2 separate regions of the Homo sapiens genome follow, and region 1 is linked to region 2. Evidence: promoter capture Hi-C in human tissues and cell types (Jung and others, 2019). All regions are on one chromosome and are shown on one strand. Each heading gives the region's core, a stretch centred on a gene start or on the middle of the fragment in contact. The rest is flanking DNA. Distances are from core to core; before and after follow the strand shown.

Evidence for each region. The method cuts DNA at HindIII sites, captures the fragments that hold promoters and counts their contacts. A contact is called where the count stands out against the background at its distance.
Region 1: a fragment that was not itself captured here is called in contact with the fragment with the promoter of GFRA4 in region 2 in 1 of the 25 tissues and cell types used here (pancreas).

The regions. Positions count from the first base shown.
Region 1 is chr20:3,614,779-3,620,268 of GRCh38, reverse strand. All of the region lies in intron 24 of ATRN (attractin), which reads right to left. Among named protein-coding and RNA genes, the nearest start is that of GFRA4, 46 kb to the left of the region's middle. The HindIII fragment of the contact is 5,534 bases long and covers 1-4,906 here.
Region 2 is chr20:3,660,688-3,666,426 of GRCh38, reverse strand. GFRA4 (GDNF family receptor alpha 4) reads left to right here and starts at 3,028. Exons shown (of 6, transcript NM_022139.4): 1 at 3,028-3,073; 2 at 5,138-5,483; 3 at 5,563-5,672. The coding sequence starts at 3,028. RefSeq lists silencers at 5,403-5,512, 5,603-5,652. The HindIII fragment of the contact is 25,120 bases long and covers 1-5,739 here.

The DNA of each region.
Region 1 (5,490 bases), core at 890-3,389, 45 kb after region 2:
TCTCAAAACAAAACAAAACAAAACAAAACAAAACAAAACAAAACAAAACTCCTCCTGTGCTCCTTTCCCTGGACAATTTCTTTAGCATTTCAGGAACTGCATTGAAAAAAAAAAATCCTCGCCTTTAATTGGAAGGTTAAATCCCCATAATTAGTTTGGCTCTTTTGGGGAGTGGGAGGGAGATGGGGAAGGATAAGGGTAGAGGAAGAGAGGACAGTGCTTTGAAACAAAAGGAGAGGCAGGGCCCAAACCTGGAGGCAGGGAAAGGGAGGGAATGGAGGGGAGGTTTTGCATTCTGAAAGTGCCTGGGAATGTAGGGTGTCCTTGTGGCAGGCTAGGGAGGCTCTGGTGCTTAAGTGTCATTCTATGTCCAAGCCTGTGCCACACAAGAGTGAGGATGCTGCCCTCAAGAGTGAGGGGCCAGGGAATCGGGCGCAGCAGTCAGCGACTGAAGATCAGACCAGGGGACCTTCCCCAACCTCTGAGCTCAGTTCAGCCCTGAGGTTTCTGTATGTTCCTGAGGGAAGAGAATGGGTCTCTGCCAAAACAGAGGCTGAGAATGAATTTCTAATTAAGTATGGTGGGTAGAACCTGAGTCCAAGATTACCATAAAAATATGGAAGCATGGCATTTCTTATATTCCACTACCACATAACAAATGCTTTCCATTTTAAAAATGATTGTATTTTTGCATCTACTATGTGCCATCCACAAAGAAGGTACTCAAAAACTTGAATAAATGGATGAATGAATGAATACTGAATGACTAGGAAAAGTCACTGTTTAATACAGCAGATTTGAAAAGAGAGAAGAAAGGACCTTTCATTGGCCTCTGGCCTCATTCAGGACTTGCGTTCTGGTCGGAAGGATAAAACTGGCATTTCTAAGTCAATACCAGAGTTTCCTTTTCAGAAGGTAAGACACCGTGGTGCAGAACTAATTACACTTTATGTAGCACTCATCTAAGTCTACTGACCATATGCTGTGGAACCATGGACTGCAGAAAGGGCTGCATTATTTCTACCATGGAGATGTCTATCTATCCATTATCATGAGCACACAAGACAGGGAGAGGAAGAGAAAGGACAGCTGGCCACCCTGTGAGGTGAAGTCTTTCCGCTTCAAGGCAGCACCTGTCAGGCTCCGAGAAAACGCAAGGTATGTATGTACTGGGCAGAATCTCCGCAGGCTCCCAACGACCCCCTGGGACCAGCGGCCCCACCAAGGGTGAGAGCTCAGCCCAGAAGGAGCCCATGTGCTCCTCTATTCTCCTTGAGGCCTCTACTCTTCTTGGCTTTGCAAAGGATGGAAGATTCCGTGAGCCCTGGCTAAGTACATTCTAACCTGGGTCTTGTGCTGTCACCTCCTTGAGTTTGGCTGTGACATAAAACAACTCTTCCTTTTTTCTTAAAAAACGAAACAAAACCACCACCACCACCAAAGTTCATACATGGAACTCTATGTCAAGACCACAGCTCTGGACCAGATCCATATGACCATCACCCGGCCTCACACACCACGCACCTAATGCTGGTTTGTGCTGGCACAGAAACTGTATACCCAAGCTCTGGTCAGAGCCCCATGGCCAGTTAATGCCATTCAGCCACTCATTCCTGCCATGCAAACGAACACTCACCATCTGTCTGCTCCCAACCTCCCACCTCAATACTGCTCTGTGCTTTCTTTCCCTAATTTTCTCCTAGCAATTCCTTTTGACCATTCTCCAGAATTCCTATTCTATCACACTCATTAACAATTTAGAAATCATTAGAGAACTACATACTTAGCTGAAATATCAAAAGGTACTGAAAGGCTAGTCATGAAAAGCAATGTTCCCTGCTCTTCCTCTGCTCTTCTGAAGGCTTCTCTCCAGGGACCCCCACCTTGAACTAGGTTACTTTTCAGTTCTTCTGGCAGTTGCCTTTTTATCATTAATGTTTTTATTGTTATTTCCTGATCTATCCATTTTAGGCATCACTTTAACCAACCTCTTACTGAAACAGAAGGTGATTTTGGTCATCAGCCCCGCCCCTCCCTCCAGTATATATCACTGCTCTTAGTGCCTCTGTTAGTTCCTGTGCCATTATCCTGAGGGTGACAGTGATGGAAAGATGCCACCACAGATAGGAAGTGGACATGACTCTCTGGGATATGGGGAGACGATGTGCCTGTTACCCACACACAGCTACAAGATCAGAAGACAATGCAGCCATAGCCCACTGAAGGGCGGCTTCCCAGGCCCCACAGGGAGGAGCCCTCAGACCCTGATGCACCTGTGCGTCGGGGTGAAGGCAGGAGGCTTGCTGGGAAGCTCCGTTTTCCATTCTCACCAAGACAGGTGGGCTGGTTTGAGGGAGAGGGAGTTTTGCCCCTGACCCCTGAGTGTTCTAGAGACTGTCCACTGTTAACTGGTAAAACCCCCGTACAATGCTGTGTACTTCCTGTAAAGGCGAACAGAACTTCAGCTCCAGGGTGCACTATGCTCCAGGCCCGCCCAGCAGAGGCATGCTCCTGTAGCTGTCTGTAGGAGGCCAAATCATATACTCATACCTTTATTTCTTCTTCTACCACCTGTATTATTCTTTTCATTGTGTAATTTTTTTTCTTTTTTAGTAGGGATGGGGGTCTCACTATATTGCCCAGGCTGGTCTCGAACTCCTGGCTTCAAGTGATCCTTCCGTCTCAGGCTCTCAAAGTGCTGGGATTACAGACATGAGCTACCATGCTCAGCTTCTTTTTCATTTTGGAAAATCTTAAGCTTTTTAAAAAGTAGAAAGAGCACTATAATGAACCTCACACGCTCATCATCCTGCTTTAGTAAATTATCAGCTCAAGGCCAACCTTGTTTCATCCACACTACACTTACTTTCCCTATGATCATATTATTTTGAAGCATTCCCCAGACCCAATCATTTCCCTCTTAACTATTTCAATATTGACAGGAGCACTGAACTTTCTTCTTTGTAAAATTTGGATGTTTATGTCCTCAGCCCTCCCTTTTCTTCTATCTTCTAACTCTCTGGACAAAATTCTAACCAACAACAATCCAATCTTCTAACTCCACGCTGTGTAGACTGAGATAACAGATTCTTGGTTGCCAACCTCAGCCAGCCCATAGCACTGGTCAGCAATTGTTCTGACAATATCAGAAAAAGGTGTCGGCTCCTTTATAAAAGTTATAAAAGTTGTAAAAAAGAAAAAGTTCTGATACCTACCGTAAAGCCCTTATACTAACAACTATATACTCATCTGGCATACATTTAGGGAGTATCTCCAACTGATTAGCACATGACACTGAGGACACTGAGGGATAAAAATGCGATCCTTGCCATTAAGAAATCTTCGTATAGTGGAAACAGACACTCTGCTGTGGAGGTGCAGAGGAGGAAAGGAAGTTGCTATGGGATGTGTGTCATCAGATGGTCCCCTTCCCTGGGTTTCTACACAAGAATTCCACCTGGACTCCCTGGACTCCTGGACCTCCTAAGTCCTCCCAGGACTTAGGCCTGGCTCCTTCCAATCCACACTCCCAACTGCTGCCAGTGGGGTCTTTCTAAACACTGATCGTCGGTGACTTTTCGGCCTAAAACATCTCAACAATTCCCAGTCACATCAGGACTCAAGTTCACAGCCTGCAATCTCCAGTCTCTTCATAATGGCCCTCCCCAGCTCTCCACCTTCTTGCTCATAGCACTGTCACCAGCTCTGCTAAACTCCTGGTAGTTCCTGAAAGGGCTGGTCATTTCCTTTCCCCACCACGAACACCCCCTTCCCCCGCCCCCATGCTCCTTAGGAATCAGCTCTGGTGTGATCTCTCTTAACTTGGACTCAGGTGACACAGGGCACTCCCCTCCCCTCTCATGGCTCCCAGGAATGCATGGGCACACCTCCAACACCGAGCTTCTAACGAGGTGCCTGCTGTCCACTCACAGCTGCTGCTCTGGGCCAGAAAGTCTGCTGGCTGAATGAATTTTAAGGAAGTCTAGTGGGTTCCTGGCTCTGGAGATCACAGGAGAGAAGTCTGCTAGAGACAAAGATTTACCTGTCCAGCCAAAGGCAATGTTCCCAGATGGTGTGGATGAGATTGCCCAGGGAAAAAGAGTCCAGATGAAACCCAAGGGAACAATAGCATTAAAGAGCTGACAAGAGACAACCAAAGCGAAAGCTGAAAAGCAGGGGACTTTCGAGACAAAGGAATAACACATTTTTCTTTTTTTTTTTTTTAATTATACTTTAAGTTTTAGGGTACATGTGCACAACATGCAGGTTTGTTACATATGTATACATATGCCATGTTGGTGTGCTGCACCCATTAACTCGTCATTTAACATTAGGTATATCCCCTAATGCTATCCCTTCCCCTTCCCCCCACCCCACAACAGGCCCTGGTGTGTGATGTTCCCCTTCCTGTGTCCATGCGTCCTCATTGTTCAGTTTGCACCTATGAATGAGAACAAGCGGTGTTCAGTTTTTTGTCCTTGCGATAGTTTGCTGAGAATGATGGGGGCAACATGGTAAAACCCTGTCTCTACTAAAATACAAAAAATTAGCTGGGCGTGGTGAAGTGTTCCTGTAGTCCCAGCTACTCGCAAGGCTGAGGCACGAGAATCACTTGAACCCAGGAGGCAGATGTTGCAGCGAGCCAAGATTGCACCACTGTACTCCAGCCTGGGCGACAGAGTGAGACTCTGTCTCCAAAAAAAAAAAAAAAGAAAAAAGAAAAAAGAAAAGAATTAAACTGTACTTAAAAGCATGTGTCTTTCTTTGTTTCAAACTATATTTAAGGTTCTTGTACAGCCTTGTGGGTTTCATCATAAAGAAAAATTTTTTTTTTTTTTGGAGACAGGAGTCTTGCTCTGTCGCTCAGGCTGCAGTACAGTGGTGCAATCTTGGCTCGCTGCAACATCTGCCTCCTGGGTTCAAGTGATTCTTGTGCCTCAGCCTTGCAAGTAGCTGGGACTACAGGAACACTTCACCACGCCCAGCTAATTTTTTGTACTTTAGTAGAGACAGGGTTTTACTATGTTGCCCAGCCTGGTCTCAAACTCCTGAGCTAAAGCGATCTGCCCGCCTCGGCCTCCCTAAGTGCTAGAATTACAGCACAACCATATAATTCTTAAAACTCTTAAGATACAGACAATTAACACCAGGAGGTACGGATATGCACTGTTATTATACAATAAATATAAACATTAAAAGTATATCTGACACTATTCATAATAGCCAAAGAGTGAAAACCACCCAAGCATCCATCGATAGAAAAATGGATAAACAAAACGTGGTATATACATATAAGGAAGATTATTCAGCTATGACAAGGAATAAGTACTGAAACATACTAAACACGGGTGAACCTTGAAAACAGTATGCTAAGTGAGAGCATATCATGTGACTCAATTTATATAAAATGTCCAGAATAGGCAAATCCACAGAGACAGGAAATACAGACTGGGGGTTGCCGGAAGAGGGGGGAATGAGGACTGACTGCTA
Region 2 (5,739 bases), core at 1,779-4,278:
CATGGGGCCAACAGCAGAAAAGCAGGAGGCACGCAGAAGTGACTGGGAAGCAGGAGGGTAGGCATGGACCCTGAGGCTGAGCAGGAGGTACTGAGGGGCAGAGTGGACGCTGAGCTGGGGGTAGCGAGCGAGCCCAGCTCAGCTGTGACGCCCTCTGTTTGGCCACCCAACTACCAGCTACTTGGGCTGCCCCGGGAGGAACTGGGCTTCCTCTGACATTCTGTGGCCTGCGGCCATCTGTCACACCTTCTTCTCTCTCTGCCCCTCCCTTGACTTGTGGCACCCACAGACAGGTGGGAGAGTGTACCTGCCCTGTGTGGTCAGAGCTTGGTTTTGAGTTTCCTTCCCTCACCCCTCTTTCCTCCCACACGCCAAAACACAAGAGGATGTGTCAGAGGCCTGTGAACCAGAGCAACTCCATCCTGAATAGGGGCTGAGCAAAATAAGGCTGAGACCTACTGGGCTGCGTTTCCAGACAGTTACAGCATTCTGCGTCACAGGATGAGATAGGAGATACAGGTCATAAAGACCTTGCTGATAAAATAGTTTGCAGTAGGCCAGGCGCGGTAGCTCACGCCTGTAATCCCAGCACTTTGGGAGGCTGAGGTGGGCGGATCACCTGAGGTCAGAAGTTCGAGACCAGCCTGGCCAACAAGGTGAAACCTCATCTCTACTAAAAATACAAAAACTAGCCAGGCATGGTGGTGTGTGCCTGTAATCCCAGCTACTTGGGAGGCTGAGGCAGGAGAATCGCTTGAACCCAGGAGGTGGAGGTTGCAGTGAGCTGAGATCGTGTCACTGCACTCCAGCCTGGAGCGAGACTCCGTCTCAAAAAACAAAACAAACAAAAAAATCAGCTTGCAATATAGAAGCTGGCTAAAACCCACCCAAACCAAGATGGTGATGAGAGTGACCTCTGGTCGTCCCCACTGCTACACTCCCACCAGCGCCATGACAGGTTACAGATGCCATGGCAGTATCAGGAAGTTACCATATATGGTCTAAAAAGGGGAGACATGAACAATCCACCCCTGTTTAGCAGATCATCCAGAAACAACCATAAAAATGGGCAACCAGCAGCCCTCAGGGCTGCGCTCTCTATGGAGTAGCCATTCTTTTATTCTTTTACTTTCCTAATAAATGTGCTTTCACTTTATGGACTCGTCTCAAATTCTTTCTTGCACGAGATCCAAGAACCCTCTCCTGGGGTCTGAATCTGGACCCCTTTCCGGTAACAGATGTCGTAGAGTGAAGCACAACCACTGCAGGGGCATCTTGGTTTACATTTTGCTTCAGCGGCCATGGTTAGCACAGCGGAAAGCACATCACAGTCTTCTGATTCATTAAAAAAATTAGGAAATGGACCACCACAAACCACAGACAGATGTACTGAGACAGGATAGGTAGTCAAGAAAGTGACCATGTTCTAGGCGCGCAGCAGCAACTGTGGTGACCGTACAGTCAACAAGCCTCAGCACTGGCATTGCAATTGAGCTCATTCAAGCAAAGCTATCTTCAGCAGGGACTTCTCCCTCTAGGCAGCAAGCGCATTTTTATTTTACCTGTCCTCAAACTGATCCTTTGCTCCTTATAATAGTAAGGAACACACCCCTGTGTGGAGATTTAAGATGCTAATGAGGCCAAGCGCAGTTGCTCACGTCTGTAATTCCAGCACTTTGGGAGGCAGAGGTGGGCGGGTCACTTGAGGTTAGAAGTTCGAGACCAGCCTGGCCAACATGGTGAAACCTTGTCTCTACTAAAAATACAAAAATTAGCCGGGCATGGTGGCGGGCGTCTGTAATCCCAGCTACCTGGGAGGCTGAGGCAGAAGAATCGCTTGAACCTGGGAGGCGGAGGTTGCAGTGAGCCAAGATCGTGCCACTGCACTCCAGCCTGAGGGAGAGAGAGAGCAAGACATCGTTTTTGTTTGTTTGTTTGTTTGTTTGTTTGTTTTTTAAAAAAAAGTCAAGACAAATCATAGTGGGGGCTTTTCTGGTCACTTTTTAAATCTTAGTGTTGAGACTTTATTTGAGACAGGGCCTTACTCTGTTGCCCAGGTTGGATGAGATTTTTAACCTCAATATTTACTTATAGAATAACTTTTTGGTTAGTCAAAACAATGCTGTGTCTCATTCTGATCAGAATAAAACATCAGACAACTCAAGAGAAACATTCTGCAAAATAACTGGCCAGGATTCTTCAAAAGTGTCAAGGGTAAAGATAAGGAAAGATGAAGGAACTCCCAGATTGAGGAGAATAAGGAGACAACTGTGATGTGGGATCCTAGAATGGATCTTGGAACAGAAAAAGGACATTAGTGGAAAAATGAGAAATGCAAAACAGTCTACAGTTTCGTTAACAGGATTGTACCAAGGTTAGTTTCCTAGCTGTAATGATTGGACTATGATTAAGTAAGATGGACCATCAGGGGAAGCTGGGTGAAGGGTGTAAGGAAAATGCTTACATTTTCCAACTTTTCTGCAAGTCTAAAATTAGTCAACAATAAGAAGTTTAAAATAGGCCAGGCATGGTGGCTCACACCTGTCATCCTAGCACTTTGAGAGGCCGAGGTGGGAGGATGGTTTGAGCCCAGGAGTTCAAGACCAGCCTGCGCAATAGAGCGAGACCCCAACTCTATTCAAAAAAATTTTTTTAAGTTTAAAATAGAATTATATAAAAAAGGAAAAGAAAAATGCTGTTTCATAGCGTTCCTAGTTTAGCATGGGAGAGACCAGGTCTCCCTGGGTGGTTGTCTGTGTGTTGCTGGGTGTGCGTGGCAGGGCTAGTGTGTTGGGGTCCGTCTAGGCACATTCAGGCGCCGAATCCCGTGGCTCCCAGGTTTACCTGACGGTGCAGCCTGGGGTGGAGACTTAATGAGGGCGGGGAGTTGCTGCAGCAAAGGCTCCTCCCAGGGGTATCAGCGCAGACAGCTGGGTTTTCACTGTGCTCCTGCTCCAGAGGCACTAGGAAGGGGGCGCCTATCAGACTAGGGCTCTGCCAGCCATCCTTCTCTGTTGAAGGTCCAGCATGGTCCGCTGCCTGGGGCCTGCGCTGCTGCTGCTGCTGTTACTGGGTGAGCGCCCCTCTCTTCCCCTGGACCCCGAACCCTGGCCTCTCTGTCCCTGCTCCTCAGTGACAAGGTGGGAGGGCAAGATATTCCAGGAAAAGCTGAACCACAGGAAGGGTTGCCAGTGAGAGGCCTGTGCGCACGGCTTGGGGACCCCTGGCAATTGACCCCACTATGTGCTGAGCACCTCACCTCCCAGCCCCGTCAAGCCACCACCGCCATCCCCCTCCCGAGTCCAGCCTTGGCACCCGTGCCCCAGGAACTTTTGCCTATTGTCTGCCATCTCCCAACTCTCTCACCCTCCCCTCAGCCCCAGCCCTCCTACCCATCACACAGATTCCTTGGTGAATCTTCGGTGTTGTTCATCTGTTGTTCCACCTTCTTGGACTGCTCCGTCCCTGCATGGATGTCGCGGAGGGAGGGGTCACTTTACCGAGTGTAGTGTGGAAAGTGGAATCTGGTAAAGGTTTAAGGTGGAGGAGATCTTGCAGCTGAGATGAGCTGCTGTGAGGGTGGAGACTGGGTAAGGGTGTTCTGGGCAAGGGTGACAGGTAAGCAACAGGCAGAGGTGGGTTCAAACCCTTAGGCAACATCAGGTGCTGGTGTGTGCAGCTGAGACCTGAGGATGTGCCTGGCAAGGCTGTGAGAGGAAAGCAAAGTGTGCCCTTTGGGGAGGGGAGGAAGGGAGGACTCACCCCGCTGCCATCTATCCCCTCCACTCAGGGACCATTCTAAGCCCTCGAGCTATGTTCATCCTTCCTGCAGAGGCAGGTGCTGAAGTCACAGCAGGAATCACTCTCACCACGCGGTCCAATCCACAGCCTGAAAGACACAGCCATTGCCAGAGAGGCACCCTGCTCCCAGCCCTGGGGGGGGGATACCACCCCGTAGCCCCTGTGCACAAACACACAGGGAGATGGATGAGGGGCCAGGCTGTGCACGTCCACTCAGGCTGGGCACCAGAAAGGCTTCTAGTCTGAATGAGATGCTCCAGACTGGAGAACTTGTGGAGGCTGGGGGGGATTCGATTAGCCTGGTTTTTGTGACTCAAATCCTGGGAAGGGGCTGCCAAGTCCCAACTTCCAGTTATCCTGGCTCTATTTAGACACAGCCTGTGGGCATGTGGGCAGAGCTCACCCTCTGTCTACCCAACCCCTGGTGTGTGACTGGGGTGCCAGGCACCTTCTCTGTCTCCAGCAGGGTGTCACCTATCATGGGGCCTGGTCACTAAAACCACTGATGAACCCTTGGGTCCTGTGGCTCAGGACAAAGCCCGGCGGTGTGTCGTCAGGGACTTCTCTGAATCCACACCCTGGCAGCCAGGACTCAGTGGGTTCTTCAGTGGCCAGAGCTCTTGCATGAATCCGCTCTCCCCTGGCTGATGAAGGGTGGAGGGGCTGGAGGAAGCCAGTGCAGATGGGGCAGGATGACCTCGACTCAAGGGAGCATCAGGAAGGGCTGGAGAGGGGAGACACCCATGCAGGGGGCAGGAGGAGGAGCAGGAGGTCAGGAAGGAGGGAGAAACAGAAATCAATAGACCCACCCAAAGGGTCTCCATGGTGGAGGATAAGCGGCGAGGTGGAGGGGGTAGAGGAGGAAAGGTATGGCGTCACAGCCTGTCATTAAGAGACTAGGAGCAGCCACTGTCTTCTATGCCATCTCTGGTTTTAAAGTCTCCATTGGCCAGATCCCCAGAAAGCCTCATTGTTCCCCCGTCAGGTAGTGCCATTGAGTGTAGGAGGAGCCCCTGGACCCGTCTTTGGACGTGTGTGGCCGTTCTGGAGAAATGGTGGCGATGCTTGGGAAGGAGGGGCTTCAGCTTTTGGGGAAGGCCTGGCTCAGCCTCCATGCTCCCTCTCCATCCCTGACGTGTTGCAGAGCCCTCCAGAGCCCGCCGCTGCCCATCCCCACGACGGAGAGCCGATCAGTGCCAGTCGGCCCCGCCTTTGGGCCACACTCTATGCTTTCTCGGGTTTTCAGTGTCCCCCACCTTCCAGGGGCGTGGATGGGCTGGGTGAAGTGTGCATGCGGGGCGCACTGAGACCTGCAGCCTCCCCGCGCCTTTCCCAGGGTCGGCGAGCTCGGTCGGAGGGAACCGATGTGTGGACGCGGCCGAAGCCTGCACGGCGGACGCGCGGTGCCAGCGTTTGCGCTCCGAGTATGTGGCGCAGTGCCTGGGCCGGGCTGCGCAGGGGGGCTGTCCCCGCGCCCGCTGCCGCCGGGCCCTGCGCCGCTTCTTCGCCCGCGGGCCGCCCGCGCTCACCCACGCACTGCTCTTCTGCCCGTGCGCGGGCCCCGCGTGCGCCGAGCGTCGGCGCCAGACCTTCGTGCCCTCCTGCGCCTTTTCGGGGCCCGGCCCCGCGCCGCCCTCCTGCCTTGAGCCCTTAAACTTCTGCGAGCGCAGCCGGGTCTGCAGGTGCGCGCGGGCGGCGGCGGGGCCGTGGCGAGGGTGGGGACGGGGCCTCTCTCCGGCTCACCGCCCTCCCGCCGCGCAGGCCTCGCCTCCTGGCCTTTCAGGTCTCGTGCACCCCAGCGCCCAGCGCCCCCGACGGCTGCCTGCTGGACCAGGGCGCCCGCTGCCTGCGCGCCTACGCGGGCCTCGTGGGTACGCGCGGCCGGGATCCGGGCGAGGGCGGGGGTTCTCCAGGGGATATCTCCGCCCGGGTGGGCCG